Linked DNA regions of Homo sapiens: all the other regions are linked to region 3. Evidence: promoter capture Hi-C in 16 types of primary human blood cells and fetal thymus (Javierre and others, 2016). All regions are on one chromosome and are shown on one strand. The core of a region is centred on a gene start or on the middle of the fragment in contact, and the rest is flanking DNA. Distances in the headings are between cores, read along the strand shown.

Evidence for each region. The method cuts DNA at HindIII sites, captures the fragments that hold promoters and counts their contacts. A CHiCAGO score of 5 or more calls a contact.
Region 1: a contact is called between a fragment that was not itself captured here and the fragment with the promoter of C1orf53 in region 3, in 2 of 17 cell types (M2 macrophages and endothelial precursors). The highest score is 6.7, in M2 macrophages.
Region 2: a fragment that was not itself captured here is called in contact with the fragment with the promoter of C1orf53 in region 3 in 1 of 17 cell types (endothelial precursors); the score reaches 6.1 in endothelial precursors.

The regions. Positions count from the first base shown.
Region 1 is chr1:198,462,031-198,466,618 of GRCh38, reverse strand. All of the region lies in intron 1 of LOC105371677 (a long non-coding RNA gene), which reads left to right. Among named protein-coding and RNA genes, the nearest start is that of ATP6V1G3, 76 kb to the left of the region's middle. The HindIII fragment of the contact is 4,177 bases long and covers 1-3,608 here.
Region 2 is chr1:198,687,476-198,692,279 of GRCh38, reverse strand. The region is part of intron 2 of PTPRC (protein tyrosine phosphatase receptor type C); the gene reads right to left. Among named protein-coding and RNA genes, the nearest start is that of PTPRC-AS1, 23 kb to the right of the region's middle. The HindIII fragment of the contact is 971 bases long and covers 2,362-3,332 here.
Region 3 is chr1:197,901,368-197,906,015 of GRCh38, reverse strand. It overlaps C1orf53 (chromosome 1 open reading frame 53), which reads right to left and starts at 3,386. Exons shown (of 3, transcript NM_001024594.3): 1 at 3,103-3,386; 2 at 119-220. The coding sequence starts at 3,366. RefSeq lists silencers at 2,932-3,181, 3,352-3,501. The HindIII fragment of the contact is 7,446 bases long and covers 535-4,648 here.

The DNA of each region.
Region 1 (4,588 bases), core at 271-2,770, 560 kb before region 3:
GTATGAGACAGGGTTTGAATGCTAATTCGGCTACCCACTCTAAAATGAGGCTAATGATACTGCACAGTGTGGTTGGGAGATGAAATAACACATGCAAGGGCTTTTAAAATTTTAATGTGCAGAGAAATAGAAAACATTATTCTATTTCAATTCTGAAGAAAAATATGTAAATATGTCACATTTTGTCCCTTGATCAGCAATGGTTCCAAATCAAGAGTGTCTTAACTATGCCTGTTTCCCTCATAAATTTTACATAAAGTTCTGAAAATATTGCCACCATTTTATAAAGGAATGGACGGCAATCAAGGCAGAAACTGTTTGGAAAATAGAGGTTTGTTTGTTTACTTGAGGTGGAAACAATTCTCTCATCTATGTGTTGTTTATTCTCTTCAGTGAACATTTTCCTCTTTGTATCTCGGTTCTAAAGCCTCTCTGAGAACGTATATTTCAAAAGCACATGAAATAAAATCACATCGATCCTCTGTTTTACTTCATCTTGTTTGGGTGGGAGGAGATTTAATTTATATATGGTTGTGATTTTCATCATCTATCTTATGAAGCACCGTTTGGTTTTATTTGTGGGTTAGTTTCATCCTTAATACTCTTAAAAATAAAAGGGATATATGTTTTTGGTTATGTTTTGGGGGTTCTTTTCAAGCTATACTTTAATCAATGACTTCTCACATCAGTAAATGTGATAAAACTTCAATACCCAATCAACTTGTAATAATCCAAAAAAGAAAATGCTAGCCTGGATCAGCTAGGTGACTCTTTTAAACATAGAATTGAAGATAATGTGTTAAAGCCAATGCCTGATTTAAGGTATCTCCACAGTTGCTCCGATAATTCTGTTTTGAAGCACTAGATGGCACTATGAATTCACTTAATTTGGAACCAAACTAGCCCATCCATAATTTCAAAGAGAAAAAAAGATGAGACTTTTCCTTAACTGATTTGATAGTCTGACACATATGCTTAAGGAAATGAATTTATATGATGTAACAGTTATTTCATTAAGTCTCAGTGAAAAAAAGCATTCTCTTTTGGCAAGGAAAATGTGACTGTTTCTACAAACACAAACCAGTCAAATCAGCACTCAAAATCTAGTCAGAGAAAAAAAGAAAGTCAGACATGCTTGTTGGGCAACTTGACTGCTTTTTGACTGACTTAAATATTTTCTTGACTACTTGACAGTCAAAACAGTCAAGCCAGTTTGTGTGTGTCAATACAGACTGTACTTTATATGTTACAAAGTGAATGTCTATGTTTGTTAGATTTCTTTCCTGCCATCTTTGTAGTCTGGCTGGTTAGCTCAGCTGGTTAAGGCAGTCTACTAATGAGGCCAAGGTCACTCTGGTTTCCATTCCTGCCTTGGGGGATATGTTCTCCTCACAGAGGGAAAGGCTGCTCTTTGGCTAGGAACTGCATTCTTCACTCTGGACAGCCATCTCACAAATGCCTGATCTTAAAAGATTACTGCATATGGAAGTCTACATGATCAGAATAAACACATCATTATAAGAAGATAAAAACAACTCAAATTGTATATTGTATTAACAGCAGAACCACGATGTCATTTTTCTAAAGAAAGGACTCAAGAGAGTCCTTCTAAAATCAGCTTCATTAACTAGCGAAATTCTATTTCTTGTCCATCCATTCAAATATTGTATATTGTCAAGAACTTGCTTAGGCAGAGAGCTAGCTACTGGAGAATAGAGTAAGGAATAGCCTGTATCACAATGACTTCACAATATAGTGAGGAAGATAAACAAGCAAACAAATATTAGATAATGTGATAAATACTACTATAAAGGTATATACATAAACTTCCAAGGAAGGGAAAATAAAGTCTAATTTCCAGGCAGTTATATGAGCTAGATCTCAAAGAACTGACATGAATTCAACTACAGTATATGGAAAAGGGAATTCCAGGTGAAGAAATAGTGTGTGAAGACAGAGAGATGTCTGAGTGGCATGTCTGCAAACAGAGAAGTGTTTCCTGTGCCTAGAATTTTGAGTATGTGGTAAGAAGTGGCAAGAGCTGAGCTGGTAAGATAAGAGATCTAAATAAAATCAAGGGAGTTTTCCATAACCTAAAAACTTTATGAAATCCAAAGTCTAAAATAAATATTCAGGAGTTCCTGCTAATAAAAACAATTGATTAAATAAGAAAATGGGGGGAGATTAGACACATCTTTTGTCCAAAGAATCCCAAATTATGCAGAAAAGTCACCCCACCCAAGAAGGTGGAGCATAACTCCTCACTCCATGTAAGTCATACGGTGACTTCCTTCTAAACGGCACAATTCAGAAAAAGTGGGGAGGAATAACTTTACCATAGACAAACTTGACAAACACACCTCAGCCAGGTGATCAAGGTTAACATTAATAGTGATAAGTCATTTTGATTGTACTTTATGGCTATGGTCTTCCTCCCCAAAACTCATAAACCCAACCTAACCATGATATCAGGCAAATCCCAACTGAGGTACATTGGACAAGATACCAGTACTCCTTAGCTAGGCATGATGGCACATGCCTTTGGTCCTAGCTACTCAGAAGGGTGAGGCAGGAGGATTGCTTAAGCTCAGGAGTTTGAGGCCAGTCTAAGGCAGTACATCAAGACCCCATTACTATGTAAAAAAAAAAAACAGATTTAAATATACTTATTTTTTTAAATGCAACTACATCTCAAAATTTTCATAGTCATCAAAAATTGTCACAGTCAAGTGGAACCTAAGAAAACATGACAGTTAACCTATATATGACAATCTGGATAGGATCCCAGAAAAGAAAAAAAGCAGTAAGTTAAAAACCAAGGAAATCTGAATAAAACAAGGACTTTACTTAATAATGTAGCAATATTCATTCATTAATTGTGACAAATGTACCATACCAATATATGATGTTGATAATAGGAGACACAGAGTATGAGATATATGAGACCTTCCTGTACTATCTTTACATTTTTTCTGCAAATATAAAGCTGTTCTAAAAAAATCTGAGTCAAAAATTGTCATTTTGAATAAAATTAACATACTATTTTTCAAAAAATACATCCAGACAATGGAATATTACTCTGCACTAAAAAGAAGTGAGCTATCAAGCCATAAAAAGACATAGAAGAAACTGAAATACATTACTAAGTGATAGGAGCCTATCTGAAAAGGCTATGTATGATTCCTACTATATGACATTCTGTAGAAAAAGCAAACTATGGACGACAAAAAGATCAGTAGTTGTCAGGGATTGGGGCAGGGAGGGAATGAATAGGCAGAGCACAGAGGATTTTAGGGCAGTGAAACTATTGTGTATGATACTACAACGGTGGATACCTGTCATTATGTATTTGTCCAAACTCATAGAATAGTCAACACCAAGATAAACTCTTACACATATTATGGACTTTTCGTGATAAAGGTGTGTCAATGTAGTTCATAAATTATAACAAATGTGTCACTCTGATGGGAGATAATGCTGAAGGCTATGCTTGTGTGTGGGTAACAGGCACATGGGAAATCTCTGCACATTTCTCTCAATTTTGCTATGAACCTAAAACTGCACCAGAGACAGGGAAGAAACATAATGAAAAGGAGAATTGTAAAGCTTCCAAGAGTGATTACTCTTTCTTCATGAGCCAACATGGCCCATTATACTTAATGAATATGAACAAGACAAACTCAGTTCACATATTTCCAGATGATGAAATGAAGGTTCAGAACCATTGCTTCCACAGTTGTGGCAGTGGCAGAGGAACAGTGGCCTCAGGGCCTGTACTGCAAAATGTATTCCCTGTACATTGTGTTCTATGCGAATGGTGTCCCTTGGAGTTGTACCATCTGGTAGAATTGCAGAGGTCATACCAAATCCAGATCTTTTGAATTCTAATTCTGTTTACTTGTTCCTCATTAGGGACAACTGGATAAGAACTAAAAATATGTGGGAGTGTTCTGACACCCATGCATTCAGTGACATATTTTATTATTGCAAAAAAGCATTTTTTTTCTAGATTCTTTTTTGCTCACTCTGCAACTTACACTGGAAGTAAGAATACCATCAGTGCACCACCCAAGGGCAAAATCATGATGCATTTCTGAGTCAGCAATTGGGGGGAAATGCATTCATTTCTAGCAATACCTACTGAGCAATGCTCAGTGACAGTTCCTTAATACTGAGAAAAATGTTGAACTACTATTTATTATTGCTTTCAGTACATTTATGTTATTCAATTTGTCTACCTACTTGGTATTTATTTCTTTATCTGTTGGAAAGTTTCTTTCATCTTAGATATCATATTGAAAATTTTGATTAGCCTTTGAGTCAGTAGTTTTCAATTATTTTGGCAGTGAGCACTAAGAAATATTTTACATAGTGATCCAGTAGATAGATTCAAAGAAGCATAGCACACATTTAACTAAAATAAATATTTCACAGAACATGTAAATACAAATGATTCCTTTGTGCAATTACTCATATTCTCTTTGATTCTATTGTCATTCATTATTAAGTGCTGACTTAGACTCACAATGATCATGTCGTGACTTAGTTTAAAGAATATCTCCTTGAATATTAATTCACAAAATATACC
Region 2 (4,804 bases), core at 1,598-4,097, 790 kb before region 3:
TAGATTTTTATATGTACCTCAAGTCTATGATAGAACATTCACCAAGTGGCAATTTTCAGTAGCTTTTACCCTAATGAAACTATATTTCCTCTCTTAGTACCATGTTTACAAAGCCCAAATATATCAAAATTATGTTATTTATTTTTTGAATCCCCAGGCTAAATCAGAAACATAACAGACTAAAGGATCACTATTGGGATTAATTTCAAGCCTGCAAAAGACTTTTGAAAAACTTTTGAAACTTTTTTTTCCCAAATGCATTATTTATTTAGATAATGATGATTAATTGAGCACCTATTTTGTGCTAGACATTATGCCACATGCTAGGGATATAATATGACCAACATATAAAAATTCCCTGCCCTCAATGAGCTCAATTTAGTGTGAGATATAAACAAAAACAATCAATCAATACAGTGTGATGACAGGTGATACAGAATGTGCTAAAGGAGAACATAACAGGATCATCTTATTTATATTTCCAGAGTTGGTGGTTGGCTGGTAAAGGAGTTGATACAGAGGGTTTCTTGGATGTATTTAAGCTACAACCTAAAGGATTGCATATAGCTAGCTTGGTCCCAGAAGAATAAGAAGCTGGGATTTATCTTACAGGCTTTAGATATCCATTAAAGGGATGTCTTTAAAGGGAGGCCTAAAGGAGAAACATTTGAATTTTAGATCAACCTTTCAGGAAATGGAAAATGGATTATTAAAGAGCAAAGGTGGGGGCAGGAAAATCAGGAGACCAAAACCAAAGCAAAACAGACAGAGATGATGTCCTACGTAGGAAGAGTATACCCCAAAAGAAAGGTTGGGGGAAAAGGACCTATGAAACACTCAAGAATCACCAAGACTTTGTAAATCCTTTCAAGTGAGAATAAAGGAGAAAGAGTAATAAGGAAAATATCTAGATTGATAGTTTAACATGCTAGTGAGTTATAGTTTCACTGAACTTGAGAGTAATAAACAGTGAGTAGAGAGGTGAATCAGAATTTGCTTGAGATTTCATGTGAAAATGTATAATAGCATTTGAATATAGAGGTTTGTAGCTCATGACATACATCTGGGCTGATGCTATAGATCAGCATATAGATACATTTTGCAGCTACAGAGGTGAAGGAGATCACCGAACTACATAAAAGAGAAGTGTCCAGGATAGAATCCTGAAGTTCAGTGAATATTAAGGAGAGAGCCAGCATAGGTAATCAAATTTTCCAAGTAAGAGGAAAACTGTAGCAAACAAGAATAAAGAGTAGAGGGTGTTTCGAGAAGGAAATGGTTGAAGTCAAATAATATGGGGATTCACATGCAGGATAAACATGGTGCATTAACATGGGTCAACTGGATTTATCATCTGGGTTTGTGGAAATGTTGAAAAGAGCAGCTTTCTTGGCATGATGGGAACTAGATTCAGTCTACAGTGAAGTGCAATGTTTTCATCCCTCATCTTAGTAAATGCCTATTTAAAAGATTGTAAAGTTCTTTTCCAAATGACTGTAAACTCAGGTTGTTAAAGAGAATCAGAGATCAGATGGGAAAGTGAATTAGCTGGTACTTAAGGTGACTTTCTGCCTTTATATTTTATCTTCTGAGAACAAACTGATGTGAAAACATTTTCTTCCTTCAGAGTTGCCATCCAAGGAGCATCACCCCGTATTCTTCAATGACATTCCCTGGCTTATTCCTTGAAGTAAAATGCATTTTTGATATATATATTTTTATATCATTGATGGGTGATACATAATTATTAACATAATGACTTTCTTGTTTTCTCATTACATTTCTCTTTTTCTTAATAATTCATACTTAAATATTGTTTTTAATTGATATTGTTTGTACTTTTGTCCCTTTTCTTATCTAGTTAGCTTTTATCTTTCTGTTTCATGTAAACTATTGTTATGTTTATGTTCCCATTAACAGCATTCCGCTCTCCTTATTTGTTCTTATTTCCTTGTAAATTACAGTCTTAGAATTGTGTTGATTTGCAAAAGAGGTAATAAGAAAAAAATATTAGTATAGCAATAACTAATAGCTCTCATGTTTGAAGTGAAAGGAAAAGTGTCCTTCATTGTTTGTGAAGAACAAAACATATCACCAAATTTAAAATATTCAAATTGTTTTTGAGTGTGTGAACATACTTTATACAACACATATCTCTTCTTTATCTGAGAAATACATGAGCTCTTACATATCTAAAATTAGGTTGATATGCCCCTTCTCATGCAAGCACCTCATTCCTTGGAACTTGAAACAAGTTAATTTAGTTCACTTAGGTTCAAGAAACATACATTGTTTTGCTGGTATGCTGTTGGAGACTAGGTTCAAACATGATAAAAGCATGACCCTTGCCCTGGATAAGCTTATAACCCATAAAACACATATATCTAGTCATCTGCAATGACATTTTAGTCATGGATACACCTGATTAAGACTAATAATCAAAATTTCTCGCATCAACATCAGCATGAATCACATAATAAGATGAGGAAGAGGAGGAGAAGAAAGAGAAATAGCTGTAGCAAAGAGTCTTGTGTATAAGAAGTGATTGATAAGTAATTGCTGGATTCTTTTAAGCATGAGTAAGTGCAAAGGAGAAATCAAACAGATCTGATGATAACAGCTTTAGGAGAAGAGCCAAGGAGCAAGCACTGTAGGCCTTGAAAAGGAGCTTGAACTTTTTCCTCAGAATGACGGAAGCCATTGGATCAGTTAATACAGAGGAGAAATCAGAAAGCAAATTTGATGACAGAGAAAAGAGAAATCTTAATGTTACCTGCACCACTAATTCCACAGACCCCTATATTCTGTTGTTCTGATTTACTACTTTGTTGTCACCAAAATGTGTAGCACCAACTATAGATAGAGTTTCATAAAAGAAAATTATAATTCATCATCTGTTTACCACAGAAATGAGAAGAAAAATGCTGGGACACTATGTGAAGCTATTTGTTTTTTAACAAAAGAACTGTGAATGCCTGAGTAAATATACTAGAACTGTTTCCAACCAGTACACTATTCATCAGACTACGTATATGTTCCATGTCTCAGAGAGATTAATAAACTTCCAAGTGGTCCAAAGGCAATACGTTTTTTAAAAGAAATACATGATGTATATTATTTTAATCTAACTTCTGAAAAGAAGGACAAGAGGTAAATTACCAAAACGGAGAAGACTGTTTCTAATGATTTACTTTTTTAAAGAATAATTTAGAAATAATATTTTATTGTTATTAATTGTTAATATTTATTGAGTGTTTACTGGGTGCCAGGCACTATACTAAGTCTTTTGCTTATGTTTTCTTTCTTAAGCACCACAAAAACCCTAAGAAGCTTAGAAAAGTCAAGTGTCTTGGCCAAGTTCACAAGGCCAGTCTAGTATATGTGAGCCAGACTTGAACCTGAGCCTGTCTGACTTTACAGGCCATGCTCTCATTCATCAGGCGTCCCCTTTTCCCATCAACTTGTCCTTACAGCCTTTCCTCTTCATATGAAATTTTAAGCATGAGAATTCTTTTACAGAAGGTGTTTATTAAAAACTCATGAGCTAAGTAAAAATGCATCTTAATCATAATTTGGCTGCAAGTAAATTACTAGTAGTGCTACAAATGCTAAAATAACCTTGACCCTAAAAATAGATATGCAGATTAAATCACAATGTGCTGAGTGAATGCTCTATAATGGTACAAACAAATATTAGAGAAAATTTAGAGGTGTGTCAAGTTAATTTATTACAGAATACTATTTTGACAGGAAAGTCAACCAAACTACACTAATATCAAGCACAATTATTAAAATTTACAGACCTTTTGTTTAGATGTTAAGAGGTTTCTGGAGCTAGAGGACAGAATAATGGGCATACATATACATTTTTTTCTGATCTCATCATCGCTCCATATTCAAAATTTCCTCGAATCTTTTCATCTTTAATGCAGCAAAATTTAATATCCTGGAAAACAGTATAATATCTAAAGAGCCAACATTTTCCTTTCTTCTATGTTCATGCTTACTTCCCATAAAGGCCTCTTGAATTGAATATGTGTTTGCTTGTACACTGATTTATCACTGGATATGATTCTAAATTCCTCCACTGAGTGATTTTTAGGTGACACTAAAACATTGTAATCTATGTTTTATTTCATTTTTATATACTATTTCAAATATGTGCGTGCACACACACACAGACACACACACACACACACACCCCACACACCATTTTATCTTTTTAAAAGAAAATTCCAAGACTTCAGCATCACTGTTTAGACTTAGTGTAAGACTCAACTTGCTTGTTCTCATGGTCATAAAATCCCTATAAACAGATTTTTAGTTTTGGTAACACTTTTAGTCAACATGATAAATGACATAAAAATGTTTTCGTGCCTGAAAAAAACACATAGAATCTATTTAAAATAAAAATTTTAAATTAAAAACTACTTTAAAATTTAAGCCAATGCCCCTAAGGAAATAAGGTATGCACTAGAGTGATGCAACTTAAAGCAACATATCAATTTTAATAAGCCATGTGCACTAGATTACATAAATCTATTTTTCAGTCTTTTTAATGTTAAACATTTTACCAGTCTTAAAGTAGGAACACGCTAAATGTGACCTATATAAAATAGCTTAGTTAAAACACCTACGTAACATCTAAAGGACATTCCCCACACCCCGCCCCCCCAGTCATCTAATGATTTTTACATCAACGTTAGCAGAACACTAACAAATACTTTGGTGGAGAATGCCTTTATATATGAAACAAGGTAGGGAGTAGGTGAAGGTACTTAACTATTTAGAGAAAACTATAAAA
Region 3 (4,648 bases), core at 2,137-4,636:
GAAAAGTTCACTCCAGGTCTATTTGGTTTTTTATTTGACTTGTTGTTCAAATAATAGGTATTTACGAAGTTACAGAAGCACCGCAAACTGCTGCTGTAATGCAAGAATTGCTACTCACATGTCTGCACGCAGAGCCACAACATTCACCTCTTTGCAAGTGGGCAATCTGTGTGAGCACCACATAGCCAGTAGCTGGATCCACATAGTTTAGCTGGCCAGCCTGAAGTGCAATAAAATGAAACAATTCATTAATCTCAATATTCATCATATCTCTTCACCATAATGTCTACACATAAAATACTGCAGAAAAATTTTAAACAATATTAAACTTCTTCCCAGCAGTTTTAGTGGCACTTGCAATTAAAGACCAAATGCACTCCAGCATTATACACAATCCAACTTTATGTGACATAAGGAGAAAATATACAGTTTGAGAAAAATGAGAAGTTGATGGAAAAACAAGAACTCCTCTGTACCTAATAACTATGTAGCCACTGCTCTGATATTTTTCATTTGGTTTCTAGGTAACAAGCTTAATAACAGGTGATTTAAATGATTTTAAGAGCTTAAGAGGCTGAAAATGAACTTTCACTCAGAAGTTGCAGTTGGAATTTCAGTACTTAAAATATGTGGATAATGATTTAAACTTACAGAAAAGGCGCTAATCAAAACCAACGGTCCTTATAGAAAAGTATTACCTTTGCTATTATTGAACACTTTCTTTACCTTCATGTGTTACTTCATTGCACATTTTATACTATTTTTTTTTTTGCTGGTGTGTTATTAGTTGTATTTTTAAGTGAAAAAAGTATTGTTTTAACATATTAACACTCACAGCTTTCACAAGTTTGATCAAAAGAAACTTTTATTGTACTATTTCAAATGTCAAGGAAGTATATTCTATCTACATTCAAACATGACTTAAAACGGTGTCTCAAGTACTTTGTGGGAAGGGAAAAGTAAATAACATAATCTTTTCTGTGGATTTGGGTCTTTGGGGTGATATTACTTAGCCTTGGGTTTTTGTAGAGGAACTCCCATGGACTTTTTGTATAACCTTTTTACCACGCAGTAACTCAGTGCATCAATCTTGTACAGAGTTTTTTTCATTAAAATACACATGAAACTTGCATGTCTTCTGACAAACACATTTTTGTATGAACCACCAACAACTTCTTCAGTGTCTCATTTAATGGCAGAATATTTTATTCTGGTTGAGGTTTTAACCCAATATGTTTCATGAGAAAAGTGTGTAGCAAAAGGACGGGTACAGTTGAAATCTAGCCTCACTCTAAGGCATCCCAGCAAAGCTAGAGCAGGACAGGGCAGCAGAAATCCGAGCAAGTCCCAAGGCTGGTCTGAGAGAGACTTCCCAAGTCCAGGGAGACCACAGAAGCAGATTACATGAAATCAGGAGCACTCAGCACTACCTTAGAATGACCGATTGTCAGGGCCTCACTTCTTTATTTATTTACGAAGCTCGTGTTTGGAGACTTGGAAGAAAAACAAAAAAACACTAGGAACTCTGTAGCAGGCTTCTTTTTACTTTTCATAGCTTCTGGGAGTCTTCTGAGGGCAATTATCTGGCAACCTGGAAGCCTAACAGATTGCTCCTGCGCATGCCCCTGCTCTACAGCTTTCCATGTTGATTGAGCACCTCTGAGCTTGCTGGCTGCCCACACAAACTTAATTTGTCCTCAGTAAATGAGCCTCACGTAATGGTGGCCACAGACAAAGATGAAGCAAGGGTGCTGACAGTTTGACTGGAGAGCAAGATGCTCAGTGATGCGCATCGGTACCCGGAGAAAGGTAAGAGAGCTATCTGCTTTGAGGCTGGAAGAAGGACCATAGTGAGGGGGCTCAGATTTGTCGAAAAAGAAAAACAAGCAGCTTGTTATTTACTGGGCTTACTTATGGTCACCTGGATAGTCATTTAACCTGTGATACTGACACTGATGAAACAAATGTGAATTTCCCGAGTGAGAAAAAGTTCCTTTCCTTCCCTAGACTGATTGAAAATTTCTTCACATGATACTGGTGTTTGCTCTAAGGAGAATGACACTTTTCTTTAATATCCACCATATCTATATTGCGAAGTATGAGAACAAATTATATACATTATTTTTAAAAGGAGAGCATAAACAAGAACAATCAAAAGCTGCCAGTCACTTCCTAATGAGTCTTTATTCAGTTTCAGCACTTGAATGGGTCAGACCGACAGTGGATTCTCAGGGCCTACTAACTGTCATTATTTAAATAAGTCAATTTTAGGCAACCTCCGGGATTTTCTTCTCTACCCCTTTGGCTCAAGTCATACCATATAATATTAGTCCCATCAAGTACTGGAGGCACACACACATAGCTTATTAAATGGGTTCATTTCATACTGCTTTTCTATCTTTATTATAGTCAGTTTCTCTTTTTTTCTCACTGTTTCTTTTGTAAAGGTAACCATGCTGCCTTTAAACTCACGCAGACTGTGTTAGAAGGCGTAAAGGGAGAGAAGTTTAGATACTGGTACTAACAGACAATTGTCAAATCCGCAAAACAGGAGAAAACAGCTGAGTGTCTACAAATGCCAGATTGTAGTTCCCTCTGCTCCGTTAAGAGTTAAGAGAAAGGACAAGAAGGCAATGGAAAAATTAAAATAAATGTGTCAATGTCTTTTTTTCTCACTCTAAGAATCACTGGATTGCTAAGTGTTCAACTGACAATGCAGAAAAACACACAACACATTTTTGTTGTGACTTCTCAGTCCCTCCACCTTCTCCATCAATTCCTTAACACCCCCTTCCGCAACACACACACACATACACCACAAAAGAGTGGTAGTGGGTCCCACACTGCGACCGGAGTTTAGCTCGGACGCTGATCGGAAAACAAATCACACTCATACTCAAGACAGACACAGGTTTCCCGCGAAAATGTCGGGGCTGGAAGTTCGTGTGCGTGCGCGAATGTCGCCCGAGGCAGGACCGCACCGGTATCCAGCAACCTTTGCCTCTGCCGGGCGGCCTCCGGGTCCGGAGAGGCCCGGGATGCGCAGGCGCGCCGAGCCCGGGGCGGCCGCGGCGGGGCGGGGCGGGCAGGAGGGAGTCTCACCGCGCAGGCGGCAGCGTGCAGCTCCGCGATCTGTCGCTCCGCCGCGGTTAACTCTTCGCTCACCGAAGGCCTCGCCGCTCTCTCCGGCCTACCGGGCGTGCTGGGCGCGGAGCCGCCGCAGTTTCCCTCGTTAGCAGGGCAGAGGGTTAAGCTGAGCTGCTGTCGGAACCCAGCTCTTACCCAGAGAGGTGCTGGCGGCGGGGCGGCGGAAGGTTGCCTGCAGAGCGCGGCACCCGTCCGTGCCCAGATCTGCCTGGCCGCCATGCCGCCGCCGGCCTTGGGAGGCGGAGCACCCGGCGCTGGGGCCCGGAGGGGCGACCAACGCGGGCCTGGGCGCGGCGAGCCGGTCTTGGGCAGCTCGTGGCCATCGCTGCGTGGGGTCGGTTCGCGCTGCCGTGGCAGCAGGTGGAGGCGGACGGACTGAGCCTTCTGCCTTCACCAGCGGGCCCGCTGCGGAAATAAAATGGGCTTTTAAGGCAGCTAACGAGGCTCTGATGAGCTGCCTGGACGGGGAAGAGCCTGGTGTTTCCACATCTTTGGACTTAAATTCTAAGCTCTTCCTTCTTCCCCCGCGCCCACCCAGCTGAAAGGTGGACATTTTTTGTTATGTCAGACTGGACTTGGGATCATTCAGTATAATCTCCACAACTGTTAAGATCCCAGAAAGTGATCAAAAGACCCGAGGTTTGTGAATAACCACCTTGGGCCTATCCAGAAAAGGCTGAGTGTTTCCAGGTAGTATGTGATAGGAATAAAGGTGGAAGCGGAGCCTTCTTTGCTTGGTTCTTTGGCCCACCCTAGAATAAGGGCCAAAAGTAAAATCGCACACTGAATAAGAAAAGGTGTTGTGTTCATGTTGCTGAATATTTACAAAATCCAACCTAAAACTATTATCTCCTTTCTGATGGATGAAAGTGATCTTGATACCGTCACATAATTGTATTTGAGAAAATTACGGCAAGCCCGGGAAGTAATTTCAGGTGTTAGGATTAAATTAACACCACCCCATCTTCCTACCCCCCGTCTGGGTTTCAAGAAAAGGAGGGCTGAAGAGTACCAATTTTGTTAGTGCTCTTCAATACTGGGAGGGCAGGAATTGATCTTTGAGGACAAAAGTAGATTATTCAGTTGTACAGGAGAAAGGCGACTAAGCCACTATAGACCATCACTACGTGTTTTTTGGTTTCTGTGTTTACCATGCAACCCTGTAGTCATATTTTCATTTTCTTAAATCTTAGTAGGAGGTGATTGAAACAACCCTATTGGTTCATTAAAAATCTCAGTGAATTAATAAATTGGTATTATATTTTGCAAATTGATTTTCTTTTTGTTGGAATAAAAAATTAGGATCTGGAGACTGTTAAGTAATCTGAGGAGAGTTTAAAATCTGGAAAGCGAAGGAGGGACCCTAGAGAAAGCTGTGGAAGAGTGGGACCAAACATGAGATCACCAAAAATGAACAACTGTGATGTTATTCACATTCACCATAAGTCAGGTCCCCGCACCAACAAAAACCTGAGATTGATTTACTGCATTGTCTTTAAAA